Regions from separate parts of the Homo sapiens genome. Here region 1 is linked to region 2. The links are contacts of gene promoters, found by promoter capture Hi-C in human tissues and cell types (Jung and others, 2019). All regions are on one chromosome and are shown on one strand. Each heading gives the region's core, a stretch centred on a gene start or on the middle of the fragment in contact. The rest is flanking DNA. Distances are from core to core; before and after follow the strand shown. Region 1 holds the start of C17orf99 (chromosome 17 open reading frame 99). Region 2 holds the start of ST6GALNAC2 (ST6 N-acetylgalactosaminide alpha-2,6-sialyltransferase 2).

Region 1 (4,184 bases), core at 1,005-3,504, 1.6 Mb before region 2:
AAACTCCACCCTCCCCTGCAAATGCTGCCCTCCTTCCCCTACCTACCTGGTGTTCCCTTTCCTTCTACCCTGCTTGCTTTTCTCTAGAACATTCTAACTAACATACCTTAGAATGTGCTTTTTTTGCTCTGCCACCCAGGCTGAAGTGCACTGTTAATGATTACGGTTCACTGCAGCCTCACTTCCCGGACAAGCAATCCTCCCACCTCAGCCTCCCGAGTAGCTGGGACAACAGGTGCACCGCCCACCATGCCCAGCTAATTTAAAAAAATATTTTCTTTATACAAAAAAATCAGCTGGGCATGGTGGTGCATATCTGTAATCTCAGCTACTCAGGAGGCTGGGTGGAAGAATCCCTTGACCCCAGGAGGCAGAGGTTGCAGTAAGCTGAGATCGAGCCATTTTCTTTTTTTTTTTTTAAGAGATGGGGGTCTCACTGTGTCGGTCAGGCTGGTCTTGAACTCCTGGGCTCAACTGATCCTTTGGCTACAGCCTCCCAAAGTGCGGGATAACAGGCATAAGCCACTGAATGTTCTTATTTTTATTATCATCTGTCCCCCCAACCCCCACTAGAATGTAAGATACAGGAGGGGTTTGTTTCAGTGCCTTGCCACATTCTCAGGGCCTGGAATTGTGCCTGCAACCAAACAGGTGCTCAAGTATTTGTTGAATGAATAAATGATTTATCAGTCAGTCTCTTAGGAGTTTAGTTAGCAGGACTTGGTTGGCAAGAATCAGAGAAGTCGGGAGCCAGCCAAGAGGGGGAGGCGGAACTGCCCTGCACAGGTACTTCCCGGAGCCCCAGCTGCCTGCTCTCTTTTTAGCAGCCACACCAACAATGTATCCGTTTTTAAAGCAAATGAGGAAATAATGGTTCAACCTGGGCCTCATTCAAGTGAGAATGGCGTCATCATTACCCTGTACCTGCCCTTTAGCAAAATAGAGGGGGAAGGCCCTGCTCTGTAACCTGATGGCCTAGCAACAAGGGGCAAGGGTTAGTTGGGACAATATAGGGAGGTGACTGTCCATCCTCACCTTAATGGACATGAGGGGAGGGGAGGGAAGGATGGGGCAAGAAAGTGCAGGCAGAAAGATGGAGCAGGCAAAGATGAGGAAGCAGGCCAGGCTAGGGGCTGTCAGGGACCTTCCCCAGCGTCCCCTCCTCCCTGGTCCTGTACCCAGCTGGGTCCCAGACACTCTCCACTCCCCACCTGCCTCTATAAGGAAGGCAGCCTCGTGTATGTCAGGCCCCTGGGGGAGCCTTAACTTCACCATCCTCTCACGGCCCTCCTCCTGGTCAGAGAATCCCAACCTCCCAGGCCCCACCAGAATTCCCCAGCCCTCCACGGGGCCTCGCCCACCGGGCAGAGCTGTGAGGGTCTCAGGGGGGGCTTCTGCTCCCGATCAGGGACCTGGGGCAGAGTGATGAGGATGCACCTGCCCAGGGAATCTTCCCTCCAAACAGCCCAGCCAAAGGCTGGAAGCTGAGCAACTTCCCTGCCTGTGTGCCCCGGAGGTCCCCACACTGGCCTGCTTGGCCTGCCCATCTCCATCACTCCTAGGGCCCTGCAGGGTGAAGAGAGTGTTCCAGAACTGTCCAGCCATCCTCCAGCACACACCTCCCCACTAGTAACTCCCTTCCCAGCCGAGGCGCCCTCCACCATGGGGGTTCTGACACCAGGGTCCCAGCTGGGGGACTTCTCCCTGCAGCAGGCTATGCCACTTACCTTCCTCCCGTGCCTTGGAGAAGCTGCTGGCAGCTGTAAGAGAGGTAAGGGCGATAAGGAGAGGGCCTGGTGTGGAGGGGAGACCAGAGACAGCCTCGAGACCCACCTGCTGAAGCCAGGAGGGAGGAGCAGGCTGATTCTTGGTAGTGAGGCCCCAGGACTCAGCTGGCACCATCACTCACAAAAGCTCTTTTGCGCCCCTCCCCCCACAACATCGCCTCTCATCCGCCCATTTCGCAGATGGGTAAGTAGTGAGCCCAGAATGGTGCAGAAATCCCTGGACCACATATACAGCAAGTTTAGGGGCTGGTCCGAGACTCAAGCCCAGATCTTTCCCTCTCTGTCCATGTTTCCAGAGGTGCCCTTCCTTCAGGCCTCATCTCTCCTGTGCTCCCAGTACCCCCACCTGAGCCCAAGACCTCAAGGCCCCAGCAGCAGCCCCACCATCACGTCCCTGGTGGACTCACCCAGCACGGCCAAGCAGAACAGCCCAGGGAGCCCCATGCCTCGGTGGGTGTAGGGCCTCTGCTCGGGCAGTGAGAACCTCCTAGTTCCTGGCCTCCCCCACCCTGAGGCCCCTGGGATGCTCCCTGGGTGGGTGCCTGCAGTGGGGAGATAACCTGGAGGCCGCAGCACCCCAGGGCCTCAGCTACCAGGGCGGGGCCCAGAGAGCCCCGGCAGGCCCGGTACAGCAAACTCCCCCTCAATCCCCAGAGAAGTGGAAGGAGTTTGGACCTTGAAGCCAGACCAGGGCTTAGACTCAGCAGTCACCTCTGAGCCGCAGGATCCCGGGCTCACGTGGTGGGCAGAAGGTGTCCATGCTCCGCGGGGCACAGTGGCTCACACCTGTAATCCCAGCACTTTGGGAGGCCTGGATGGGCGGATCACCTGAGGTCAGGAGTTCGAGACCAGCCTGGCCAACATGGCGAAACTCCATCTCTACTAAAAATCAGCCGGGCGTGGTGGCGTGCGCCTGTAATCCCAGCTACTCGGGAGACTGAGGCAGGAGAATTGCTTGAACCCAGGAGGCGGAGGTTGCAGTGAGCCAAGATCACGCTACTGCACTCCAGCCTGGGCAACAGAGTGAGATTCCATCTCAAAAAAAAAAAAAAAAAAAAAGATGTCCACGCTGTAACTTCTGGAGCCCGTGAGCACCATGCTACGCGGCAAGGGGAATGAAGGCTGTGAGTCTTCTCATTTTGAGAGGAGGAGCCCGTCCTACATGACCCAGGTGACCCTCATGTAATCACTGGGGCCTTTCCAAGCAGCTGGGGACCTGCTGGGCTGAGAAAAGGCAGCCCCACCCATGATGGTTCACAGCCGGGAGGCCAAGGCTGCACCCAGCCCCAGAATGAAACCCCAGACCGACGAGGCCCCTGGTCCTGGAGTGTGATGGGTCCTGGAGTCCTGGGTCCCGGAGCGTGGTGTGCCCAAGCACCGCCCTTCAGAAGTCCCTCAGGCCCCACTGAGGGTGGTGGGAGGTCACATGGATGGTCATTCCCCAGGGAACTGGCCCCAGTGCTGGCCTTGGCCAGCAGCAGACCCAGCTGCATCGCAGGCAGTGTGTGTGCAGAGTTCAGCCACAGAGCCTCCTGCACATGCAGGGAGGGTGGGGGTGAGCAGGGCCTCCCAGAGCCCCGAGGCCAGGGCTGGGGCCAGGCATTCCCCGGAACACAGAGAGATGTAAGGGCGCAAGGGATTGAGGCTGGGGCCCTGCCAGCTCCGCTGTGGGCCACTGCACCCGGCTTTGTGCCCAAGCTCAGCCTGGGGCTGCTGGACCAGCCTGTCACTTTCTGGCCCGGCTCAGTTTCCCACACTTTGTGTGGGGAATGCCTTTTCTGGCTGCCTCCTTCAGGAATATGTCCCCTGCCACCAGGTGACCATTGCCTCCTGTGGGAGCTGCTGCCACCTGTGGCTCCTGACCGGTCAATCACACTCTCTGCCCCTGGGCACCGTCCAGGAGTGAACACCTGACCAAGGGAGGCCACTCACAGCCCCGGCCCAGCTCTCCTCTCAGCCTTTCCCAGGCACTTGCTGCACCGGAGGCCTGGGTGTGTTGGGAAGCTGGTCTGAGGGAGTGGCCCTGCTGACCAGGGAGTGGCCAGAAGGATGGTGGGGAGGCAGGTGCAGGTGTCCTGGAGGTCACTGCAGACTGGCTCTGTTGACCCCTCGGTGGCCCCCTCTCCCAGCTGGCATGAGTCCGTTTCTGCACCTTGCTACCCATGGTCCCGGGGATGGAGGCTGCCTCCTGTGCACCCACCGGCCTCTCTGTTTTCGGTTTCTCCCAGCTGGGGAGCAAGAGCATTTTCTCTTAGTTTCTTAGTAAAACTCCCTTCCCTTCCCAAAGTCTGTTCTCACTTCTGCTGAAGGCGGGTGGGGAAGGGAACTGAAGACTGAAGGGAGCCAGAGGTCACTGGGGAGCTGGCTGGCTGCCCAGGCCCTGGGCTGCTGGCAGCC
Region 2 (4,299 bases), core at 1,657-4,156:
AGTAATAAAGTCCTTTGTCTCTGATCCAGTAGTCTTGTGTCTTCTACCAGCATCCACAGAACTATGGCAGTTTCATTGGTTAGCTTGTAAGGAGAGCAAAATCTGCACAGTTCTTAACAAAAGATGACTTTGAACTTGGGGGCATGGGAAGTTGAAGGTCACTCCTGATGGGCTGCATTTTCTCACAGGTATGGCTGGGAAAAGAGGAGGCTTGAGGAAAGAAGTAAGTTCTAGAATCATTGTTGAGCAGGATAGAAGCTGGAGCTGAGCAAGGATAAGGAAATGGCTGATGTTGAGAGCCAGCTGAGGCCAAACTTGTGTTCCCAATTCACACTCTGGAATGAGCTACACCTGACCCCTGACCCCTGCAGCACTCAGCCAGGCCAGGGACAGGCAGCACAGGAGAGGCAGAGGCAAGAGTGAATCCAGGTCAGAGTTTTGCTGGGAAGAAAGCCAGGAACACAAGAGAATCTGGGTTACTGATGCAGGAGTAGCTCAGATTATAACCCAGGGAGTCCTGCCTAGATAGGAAAGAAAGCTGCTGAGAGAGGGTTGGCCCACTGGGAGAAAAGGGAAGGATGGAGACCCTGGAGGTCCTGTGAGGCTGAAGATGGGAGGAAGGAGAACTCCAGGTGGGTGGATAGGAGATCTTGGTGTGAGGGGAGTACTGCCATTTAAGGCATTGGAGGTGGACCTGGATTATTAACACAGATAGGGGGTTAACTCCCACACAGGAGGAGAGCACCCTCTCCCCAGCTCTTAAGACTGGAGTCCTGAGGCCTGGCGCAGTGGCTCGCACATGTAATCCCAGCAGTTTGGGAGGCCAAGGTGGGCAGATCACCTGAGGTCAGGAGTTTGAGACCAGCCTGGCCAACGTGGTAAAGCCCCCATCCCTACTAAAAATACAAAAAAAAAAAGCTGGGCATGGGGGTGCACTCCTGTAATCCCAGCTACTGGGGAGGCTGAGGCAGGAGAATCGCTTGAACCTGGGAGGTGGAAGTTGCAGTGAGCCGAGATCACGCCTCTGCACTCCAGCCTGGGTAACAGGCTGTTTCAAAAAAAAAAAAAAAAAAAAAGACTAGAGTCCCGGCAGGGAGAGGCTGGGCTGTGTGTGGGGGCCAAGTTTGTAGGTTTGTAAGTGGAAGTTGAATAAATTACTAATGAATGATTCTCCTTTTCTCCATGAAGTAGAGGGTAAGGCACTTACTGAGAGCAAGGGCTAGGAGGGATATTTATGGGCACAGAGAGAAGGTCTGAGGAAATGTGAGAAGCCAGTGATCAGGGGATAAGTAACATCTACAGGAATTTTGACAAGTAAACCCATAAAGATTGAAATGAAAGTCGTGACACCATAAATTCCAAGTAGTGCCCATCTGCGGGGTAGCAAGATGAGTCTGGCTCTGCTGAGCAGTCTTGGGGTGAAGGAAAGAACTGGCCCAATGTGAGTGACCTCCAGTGACCCTGACTTGGTAGGAGTACTGAGACTGGATGGACTGAATGGCCATTCCTGACCACAGGCCCAGGCCCTGGGAGGTTTTCGGGAAGCCTTGCAATCAGACAGGTACCTGTTGCTGCACCCAGACTTCCTCGGATACATGAAGAACAGATTAGAGCCAAAGGCCCGTGACACGGTAGCCTAGGTCCCTCTCATCCTTGCAGCCTGCTGACAGTTGGGAGTCTGGGGCATGTCACAGCCTGCCGCATGTCACAGCTTGCCGAACAGTGGCCACTGAAGCACACCCATCTCATCCATCACTCACTGCCAGGGAGTGTTCCACTTAGAGAGCACGGGTGCTGAGCTTCCCAGCCCTTTCTGATGCTGGAGCCTGCTAGACCAGGGGTCCCCAATCCCAAGCCTGGTCCGAGACCTGTTAGGAACAGGGCATCGCAGCAGGAGGTGAGTGGAGGGGGAAGGAGCATTACCGCCTGAGCTCCGCCTCCTTCAGATCAGCCTCGGCATTAGAGTCTCAAAGGAGTGCGAACCCTTTTGTGAAATGCGCATGCCAGGGATCTAGGTTGCGGGCTCCTTATGAGAGCATCTTAACTCATGCCTGATGATCTGAGGTGGAACAGTTTCATCCCCAACCCCCCCACCCCCACCCCCCTCCGTGGAAAAATTGTCTTCCAGGAAACCAGTCCCTGGTGCCAATAAGTTTGGGAACCCGTTGTGCTGAACATTTCAGGTGGTCTCTCTGACTGGCCTCGTTCTGTGAAAGGAACTCAATGCGATTGAGGGGACTGGCCACCCTGGATGGTTACCAAATAAGCGCTGACAGCCTTAGCTCCCCCACGAAACCCATCACGGCAAGCTCCCCACCTCACCCCCTTTTCCCCCCTCTACCGCCAGCCCAGAGACTGAGCTGTCGGGTTTTGCTCCTCCACCCTGCCCGCCCCCTCCCAGCTGTCCTGGCGTCCGCAGACTGACAGATCTGAGGGTCCTTTGGAGGGAGCCGGGCACATCTCCTCCCGGCCGCCGCCCACCCGCCACAGAGTCTAGAGGCCGAGTGCCGGGCCCGCAGAGGGCAGAGCGCAGCCAGCGCAGCAGGTGGCGGCGTCTACCCGCGCCTAGCTAGCCCCGGACGGCGCGAGGAAAGCGCCCTGCCCAACCCGAGACTGGCGGCCTCCCGGGGCTGGGCTCTGGAGAGAGCGCAGTGGCAGGAGTGGCCGCTGCCGAAGTCCCCCGGGCAGGGGGCAGGGCCAAAGGAGCGCGCGCTCTGGGCGCCGGGACGACACTCCAGCCCCGGGGGACCCGCCGCCCAGCTCCCGAGGGTGCGGCAGCCTCTGGCCACTCAGCCGGGGCCGAGAGGGAGCTGCCGGGCGGGCAGGCGCCGCAGGCACCCGGCGGGCAGGGCGGGGCAGGGCAAGACGGCCGCCTCCGCAAGTGCCACCCGGCCCACCCGGTTCTCTCCCTTCTGCCTGGGACGTCAGCGGACGGGGCGCTCGCGGGCCGGGGCTGTATGGGGCTCCCGCGCGGGTCGTTCTTCTGGCTGCTGCTCCTGCTCACGGCTGCCTGCTCGGGGCTCCTCTTTGCCCTGTACTTCTCGGCGGTGCAGCGGTACCCGGGGCCAGCGGCCGGAGCCAGGTAGGGGCTGCCGAGCGCAGAGCGGGAGGGCGCAGGGGCGACCAGGGCGCGGGGAGGGTCCCCAGCCCAGGGCTCCCCGGCGGCCCGCAGCCCTCAGCCCAACCTCCGCGTGGACCCCTCTGGGGCAGCTCTCAGCGAGGACTCGGCCGCGGCCCTTTGTCGCCAGAACCCTCTCCCAGCCTTGACCTCGCGCTGCCCGGACCCCGCGGCCTTTGCCTGGGTCCAAGGAAGACCTCGCCCCTGTGCACTGGCGACCCGCCCCGGTGCCCCTTGTTGGTGAAGTCCTCCCCGGCCTGATAAGTACACTTTCTATTGTCGAAATCTGGCTGGGTCCCCGAAGCAGATAAAAACTTCCTTTTTTGTCGGGAACTCTCCCTCGGTAACGTCAGATTCTGCTTTTTGGGCAGGGGCCCAAGTCTCCGGTTTCCAACTTCGCGGGGACCCTCCGTCGGGCCGCGGCCAGTCGCCTTTCCCGCCCGCTGCGGTCTCTGTCCGCCCCGCGCCCGCTCCCTTCTCCCCGGCTTCCGCTCGCCGTGTCTGGATAAGCCCAGTGCGGGCGCGATCCGCGAAGAGGCGGGCGCCCGAGGGAAAGAGGGGTGACTCCTGGCTCCATCCGCGTTCTCCTCCCCGCGCCGCGTCCTGCGCTCCACTCCCTCCTCCTCCCTAGGCACTTTCCTGGGTGTCCCACGAGGAGAACCTGGGAGCCGGCCTCTAGCAGGTGGTGGTTCCGGTGACTGAAGAAGCCGCAAAACGATTTCGCTTAGCTTAAGAAAGGCGGACCAAGCCGTGCGAAGTCTGGGTTTGGGAGGAGGGAAGGGCCCGGCAGCCTCAGGGAGAGGCCTCCAGCCCCAGCCTTTCCCTTCCTGGAGCTTTTCCATCTGCGCACCCCCTACCAACCTTGCTGGGGGGCTAACGGGATGAAAACAAAATAAGTATCTGGTCTCCACAGATGCTGTCAAAGGATACACCAAAAGTTGCAGAACAATGTGAAACAGCTTGCCAGTGATCAGGAGTCCAGCACTCTTAGAACAAAGGGTGCTTGCCCCGCCACGGTGACTTAACGCCTGTAGTCCCAGCACTCTGGGAGGCGGAGGTGGGAGGATAGCTTGAGGCCAGGAATTCGAGGCTGTGAGCTGTGATTGCACTACTGCATTCCAGCCTGGTTGACAGAGAGAGACCCTGTCTCAAAAGAAAAGGAATCCTTGTCACTTTTATGT

The links. The method cuts DNA at HindIII sites, captures the fragments that hold promoters and counts their contacts. A contact is called where the count stands out against the background at its distance.
Region 1: the fragment with the promoter of C17orf99 here is called in contact with the fragment with the promoter of ST6GALNAC2 in region 2 in 1 of the 25 tissues and cell types used here (aorta).

What each region holds. Positions count from the first base shown.
Region 1 is chr17:78,144,455-78,148,638 of GRCh38, reverse strand. C17orf99 (chromosome 17 open reading frame 99) reads right to left here and starts at 2,254. Exons shown (of 5, transcript NM_001163075.2): 1 at 2,195-2,254; 2 at 1,728-1,760. The coding sequence starts at 2,231. RefSeq lists an enhancer at 1,012-1,231. The HindIII fragment of the contact is 10,351 bases long and covers 1-4,184 here.
Region 2 is chr17:76,584,467-76,588,765 of GRCh38, reverse strand. It overlaps ST6GALNAC2 (ST6 N-acetylgalactosaminide alpha-2,6-sialyltransferase 2), which reads left to right and starts at 2,906. Exons shown (of 9, transcript NM_006456.3): 1 at 2,906-3,082. The coding sequence starts at 2,958. RefSeq lists enhancers at 1,239-1,919, 1,920-2,601 and silencers at 2,470-2,759, 2,810-3,149. The HindIII fragment of the contact is 21,800 bases long and covers 1-4,299 here.